Regions from separate parts of the Homo sapiens genome. Here region 2 is linked to region 1. Evidence: promoter capture Hi-C in human tissues and cell types (Jung and others, 2019). All regions are on one chromosome and are shown on one strand. The core of a region is centred on a gene start or on the middle of the fragment in contact, and the rest is flanking DNA. Distances in the headings are between cores, read along the strand shown. Region 1 holds the start of GABRA4 (gamma-aminobutyric acid type A receptor subunit alpha4). Region 2 overlaps GABRA2 (gamma-aminobutyric acid type A receptor subunit alpha2).

Region 1 (3,531 bases), core at 458-2,957:
CTTGAATGTAAGCTCCTTTAAGGCAGAATCTCTATCCTGTTCAACTCAGTTGCTGAAGGGTAATTAGTGCAGTGTACTGTAAAAAACAGGGACTTTGAGATCAAAGGACCTGGGCCAAACCTATGAATGGGACCCTAGCAAGTCATTTGTCCTCGTTGAACTGGACTGAGAAGCTGTTTGAGGTTAAGAATTGTATCTTAATATTTCTGTGGACCTAGTACCTAGCGCAAAGCTTGCCACATAGATTTCCATTATATATGCAAAGGAAATATGAATATGAAAAACAGCAACAGTGCTGTTAATGGATGTACCTCTATTAAGTCCTTTATACTTATTTTGTTGAAGAAAGCAAGCTGGAACATCTCTAACTTTAAAGTCTTAGGAGGAAAGCAAATGACACATCACCAAAAAAGAAAGGGAAAAAAGAAAAGCATCCTGCTGTAGAAGAGAAAAGGAAAGGACTGGGTTCTCTAGCAGAGCAGGCAGCTTCATGCCCCAGATTTATGTCCCAGGTAGAACATTGGCCAAGGTTTTGGCATAGGCATGGACACGTGGGAGGATGAGGGACTTCGGTTCAGCTGCCTCCAATGCAACCTGCTCTGAGCGAAGTGGCCAGGTTCAGGGAAACTATTCTCAGCGAAGAGCGTCCAGGCAGCTGAGCCCAGAGTTCCCATTTTTGACTCTTCCTCTCCAACCTCCCCCACCCAGCAGTCAGGTCCCGGGAGGTAATTAGTGTGGGGGAGAGGCAAAGCTTCTGAGGGGGCAGGGAGATGGGAAAGTACGGGTGGAGGCGGTCTTCTTGTCATAGGTCTCACCAAGAGAGGAGAGATAGAAAGAGAGAGAGATTTATTTTTGCACGTGAGGCATACCTAATGATATTCCCACAGACAGACAGACAGGAAGACCAAGAGAGGGACAGACAGGACACACTTGCGCGTTTGAAATCGTTCATACCCCCAAATCCAGGACGCAGCCTGTTGTCATAACCATCGAGCAAACTGTCCAGGATGCGGGTGAAATTTTCTGTGCACAATTTCTCCTCCTTTTGGTTCTGTCCTGGGGATTCGTTTAAACTGCAAGCGAAAAAAAAAAAACCGGGGGCGGAGGAGATTATTTTAAGAATCCATCAGAGAACAGGTGCAAACAGGTTTGTTTTCTAGGGAAAGAGTCGCTTGCCCCAAGCTAAAGGAGAGGAGGTTGGGGGTTGGGATGCAGAAGACAGAAATGGTCAGGAAAAGCGCGCCCCGCCGCAAGACCCCCAGTGCCCACACGCCTCTTGGATCCTGCGCCCTTGGTGCTCTCCGCATCTATGCGGTCACAGAAAAGCCTGGCTTCGGCCCCTGCTCTTACAGCTGAGATAAGAAGACCTAGTCCACCCAGGGAGGAGCGAGTGGCCAAAGGGGTCCCGGAGCTAGCCATTTCTCCACTTTCCGTTGCCCACCTCCTCGCACCCCAGAGAACTCACCAAACCGCCAGGCACAGGAAGCGCAGGAGGGCGAAACTGACCCCGGCGGACAGAGCGATCGCGGGTACCTTCTTGGCAGAAACCATCTTTGCAACATGCCATACTTCAAGCCTGTTCACGTTTCCAGGCTCTTCAGATGCCCTGAGCAGGGTGCGAGGAGAGGGCAGAGAGGCTCCCGCGGCGTGCGCACACTCGCGCTCACACTCGCCCGCGCTCAGCCAGCCCGAGCCGCGGTGGGCGTGTGTGTGCACGGGGCCAGGGGAGGCGGAACCTGCCTTCCTCGCCCCCTCCTTTCTCGCTCAGCGCTCAATGTGTATGTAGAGCTATGTATACCGCTCCACACCCTTTCGTGCCCGCGCGCTGAAGGTTCTGGGGTTCGTATCCGCGCGCTTGCGCTGCAAGACTCGGCAAGTTTGTTCCGACTGTAACTCCGGGGATGAGGAACGGGGTCTCTCGCCCCTCCTCCGGCTTCGCAGCCCCCGACCCCAAGTGGGCTCCCCGCCCACAGCAGTGTTCGTCCTCCTACCTCCTGGCCCCCTCCCTTCCGCTGGGATTTGGATCTAACCAATGAAGCTCCTCTGTCATCAGGTTGTGCGAGGACCTGTTTGTACCCAGAGTCAAGGTTGGAGGTGGAGAAAGGGCGGGTGACGGGGACTGCTGGGCGTCGGGTGGTAGCGGTGGTGAGGAGAGGGGATCAAGTCCGGGCTCAAACCACCTTTGAGACCCTCCCATTCAGGTGTTATGGGGGGCGGTAGGGAGAGCAATGAAAGCAGAAAGATTCTTCCTGGTAACAGGGGTTGCAGCTCACCCGGCGGACTCTCGCCAAACTATTGGGAAGTGGACTCGAGCCGCACTCTAGTCCCAGTATTTGCTAAGCTATTGCTTTAAAGACACCCCATTTCTTTACCCGCCTCCACCAGACACGCGCACACCCTCCGCTTTGCTGCTCCATCCTTTTCTGGAGAGGAGGGGAGAGGTGGAGACAAGCGACCTCTGGTCAAAATCACTTTCACTTCTTGCGACACTCTTCTTTTTCAGAATGGAGTTGACTTACTTCCAGAGGTTGACTGCTTTAGGTAGGGGGAAAGGACGGCTGGAGAGAGAGTGGGGGGGGAAAGAGAAAATGTGTGTGTGTGTGTGTGTGTGAGAGAGAGAGAGAGAGAGACAGAGAGAGACAGAGAGAGAGAGAGAGAGAGAGGCAGAAGGTGGGGTATGGAGAGAAAGGATACATAAATTAAAATGGAGGGGGACAAATATTAGTTCCCTTGTGACATGAAAGGGAACACTAAGCTCCATATCTTTACTGTTTTACTGAGCAAAGATAAGCATTCCCAATAGATCTTTGGAAACATTAATTATTGGCTCCAAGGGGGAAAAGCGTCTTTCAAATTAGTAATGATGCATGTGGAAATTTTCATATGATGGATCAATGAGCTAAGTAATTCCCATACCTTGGAACCAAACACCAATTAGGTTCTAGTCGGAACTCTGATGATTTGTTCAAATTGAGATGACTAGTGGACGGGTATGAAGAGGGAACGCATTGTATTAGACAGGGGTTTTGGTTTTTTTGTGTGTTTTAAACGTCTGGATTCAAGTTTTCTTTCTAAGGGAAAGCCCAAAGTGCTCATCGTGGGCAGTAGCTAGAGCTCCGTGCTCTGTATTCTGTACTGCTTTCTTCATGGAATTTGTTAACTTCATCCTAATCCCATCTCTATCATTCTTTTCTCATAGACTGTGGTCTCTCTGAGGGCCTGGGCTAGGTAATTTTTGCTCATCTGTGTTTATTTTATCTGCTGTTACAGTGCATGGCACATAGAATGTCAATAAATATTTATTGAATGAACAATTAAACAAAGCAATGAATTGCTTGTTCTCAGATCCATCTTATAAATGTGGATGACTATCAAGCTCTCTCGTTTGGGAAAAATAGCGGAAGAACTAGTGTATCCTCCAAATATGCCATGAAAGCATTAGTCACCACAGATTCTCCACATATTATATTATTTCTCTAATCTTAATACTTTCCTACCTTTTTAAAAAGAGAATTTAGCTCTGTTGCCCAG
Region 2 (3,337 bases), core at 465-2,964, 670 kb before region 1:
ATCCACTCACTAAAACACAACTAAATTGTAGGACTGTTCCTGGAGTGATTTCTCATTTACTTTGATTTTCTACATTTATTTACTTATTACATTATACTCTTGTGGCTAATAAAGGCTAGTCTCCCTTGAGTAAATTCCAATCAGTGTGTTTCTTCTATAATGAAGAACATGTAGTCTATGAAGCAGGTATGCAACAATGTAAAAAATATCACTCTTGGAATACACAAGAATAATGAAGCTCGAATACTTTCAGTTGGTACTCAAACGGGGCTAGATAACAATTTAGCACAGTATTTGCATTGCAAAAATTGCAAAAACAATGAGAATCTTAAGAACAGATCAGCAAAGGGCCAGTAAACCCAATTAGTACAAGCCTTATTATACAAAGAAGTTCACCAAACTACAGTTGCAGAACAACATAGCTACTGCACATTCAAAACATTGTGGAGGTAAGATGTTTGGGCATTCTTTTTGGAACTAGGGGCCAGGCAAATTTCACTAACAAATTAGAAAATGTTACTAAAGATTCATATTTTAACAGAAGATAATTAAAATATATATAATAGAAGTATTCAATATGATTCATAGTTATAGTAGACAGCAATTTACTTTGATATAATATGTGTCATTTAAAATTCATAACATCCTCATTGCATATGCAAAATTATACCAATTTCACAAGTGGAAAATACTTCAAAAGCAATATTTACTTAAAAAAAAGACAGAGAGGCAAGATTTGGTCTCAAATTCTGTGTTTCTAAATACCATGGTCTTTTCATTATACCATACATAAAACAACCCTTGAAGGCAGAATATCAGAATAAAATTTCCTTCTTTCATAGATCAATAAATGGACATTACTCATGGCTTATGAGAAGTTACAGGAAGAACTAAGTTGTAGGGCTGAGACTGGAGTTTTGGAATTTCTGAAAGGGGTATTTTCTTCAAAACCTGATGTTGGAAAAACTGAATAGCCATATGCACTAGAATTAAATTGGACATCTATCTTATCCCATACACAAAAATCAACTCAAGGCAGACTAAAGACCTAAAGGTAAGACCTGAAACTATAAAACTCCTAGAAGAGAAGATAGGCTCTTTGACATTGATCTTGGCAATGAGTGTTTTGAACATCACTCCAAAAGCTCAGGCAACAAATGTAAAAATAAACAAGTCGACATACATCAAACTAGAAAGCTTCTGTACAGCAAAGGAAACAATCAACAAAATATAAAGGTAGCCTTATGGATTGGGAGAAAATACTTGCAGATTATATATTTGATAAGAGATTAATATCCAAAATACATAAGGAATTCACACAACTCAATAGGTAAAGAATCTGAATCGACAGTTCTCCAATAAAAACACAAAATGGTCAATAAGTATATAAAGAGGTGCTCAACATCACTAATCATCAAAGAATTACAAATTAAAATCAATATCACCTCACACCTGTTAGGATGGTTATTATCAAAAAGACAAGAGATAACGAGTGTTGGCCAGGGTGTAGATAAAAGGGAATCCATGTACACTGTTGGTGGGGATGTAAATTGGTGTATCCATTAGGGAAAACAATATTGATATTCCTCAAAATGTTAAAAGCAGAATCTTTCTGTTAGGTATATACCCAAGAGAAATGAAATCATGACCTTTAAAGATATTGGCATTCACATGCTCATTGTAGCATTATTCACAATACCCAATATACAAAAACAATCTAAGTGTCCGTCAATGCATGAATAAATTATTTAAACATAATATATATGTACAATGAAATTCTATTCAGCCTTAGAAAAGGAGATCCCATCATTTGCAACAATATAGATAAACATGGAGGGCATTATACTAAGTAAGATAAGTCAGACGCAGAAGGAAAATACTGCATGATCTCACTTACATGTGGAAAAAAGGAAGAGAGAAAGGTACGTTGGTTGTTTGAATACATAGAATAAAATGTTGGCAGTTACTGCGGTGGGATGTGAAGAGGGAAAAAATGGGGAGGTGTCAATCAAAGGGTATAAAGCTTAGATACATAGGATGAATGTCTACAGATCTAAGGTAAAACATAACGACTATAATTATTGTATACTGGAAATGTAAGTGCTCTTACTGGAAAAAAAGTAAACTATGCAAGATGATGGATATGTTAATTTTACTTGACTGTAGTAGCCACTTACTATTATAAGTGCACTAAAATATAATGTACATCTTAAATGTGCATAATAAAAAATCTTTTCACAATTAAAACTAACTCAAACACAAAATCAAATAATCATAATGATACATATTAAGTAATAAGAAATAGATGTTAAAACACAAGTTCTCAAGTCGGGTAGATCAGGGTACCTGGCTTTGAGCAGGTTGGCTAACCTTTCTTTATATCAGTTGACTTATCTGTAAAATGGTAAGAAAAATAGAAGTTACTTCCTAGGACTCTTGTAAGGATGAAGTGAGATAATATTTGCAAAGTTCTCAGAAAATGGTTGGACACCAAGGAAGATAGTCTGGCATAAATCATCTTCAAAAGATCCTTCTCCCTCTCCCCATACTCAACAAAAGGGTGGCCAGACAAGGTAGAGACAACCAGCAATTAAAGGTCATAAAGTTCCAGAGGCAGAGGCCACACAGGATACCACAAAGAATGCCATTGGAGAATAAGCCACCTGTGTTTTTGGTGACTGCAATAAGGAGGTCACTGAGAAGACATCACAAGTATGCCCCATGGGAGATCCAGTATTCATCCACCAACCATACAAACGGCATATATTGCTAACAGAGAACTACCAATAGAACCAGTTCAGTAAAAATGTATGTTCCCGTTTTACTACTCTCCCTTACCATTGCATCAACTTTGAAAAACACAGAAAAAGAAGAGGAAGAGTAGATCTTGGCCTGTCTCCACAGTATATCCCTTACCTGTGAAAAAGGCATGGAAAAGGACAGAACATCTAGATGGCCTAAGAGACTGATGCTGAAATTAGTCTGGACTGGACTCTTTAAGCTATGGTATGCACTGAAGCATTGCCGTAATGTGAGAAAGGGAGTTTGAAATAATAAAATCTTGCTGATTTCAGTCACCTGAATCTCTAAAGCCCTGGGGGTGAAGTAAAAACACTCTCACAGCCTCCAAGGCCCTGCACGATCTCTTCCTCTCTACTTCTCTAGCCACCCTACAATAATCCCCCACCACATCCACACACCCACGCCCCAACACATGCACCCCTCTATGCTGCCACAATAATGACATAAGTATGTGTCAGGCCTCTGATTTATCATGCTGCATTTTACTATGCAAACTCACTAACCTCTGTTGATCAGTCTTCTCTATCCCCTCCCT

Evidence for each region. The method cuts DNA at HindIII sites, captures the fragments that hold promoters and counts their contacts. A contact is called where the count stands out against the background at its distance.
Region 2: a contact is called between a fragment that was not itself captured here and the fragment with the promoter of GABRA4 in region 1, in 1 of the 25 tissues and cell types used here (dorsolateral prefrontal cortex).

What each region holds. Positions count from the first base shown.
Region 1 is chr4:46,991,874-46,995,404 of GRCh38, forward strand. GABRA4 (gamma-aminobutyric acid type A receptor subunit alpha4) reads right to left here and starts at 1,708. Exons shown (of 9, transcript NM_000809.4): 1 at 1,466-1,708; 2 at 955-1,073. The coding sequence starts at 1,551. It also overlaps a transcript of GABRB1 not described here. RefSeq lists a silencer at 1,639-1,933 and an enhancer at 2,095-2,164. The HindIII fragment of the contact is 6,154 bases long and covers 492-3,531 here.
Region 2 is chr4:46,319,258-46,322,594 of GRCh38, forward strand. The region is part of intron 4 of GABRA2 (gamma-aminobutyric acid type A receptor subunit alpha2); the gene reads right to left. Among named protein-coding and RNA genes, the nearest start is that of GABRA2, 69 kb to the right of the region's middle. The HindIII fragment of the contact is 4,076 bases long and covers 1-3,337 here.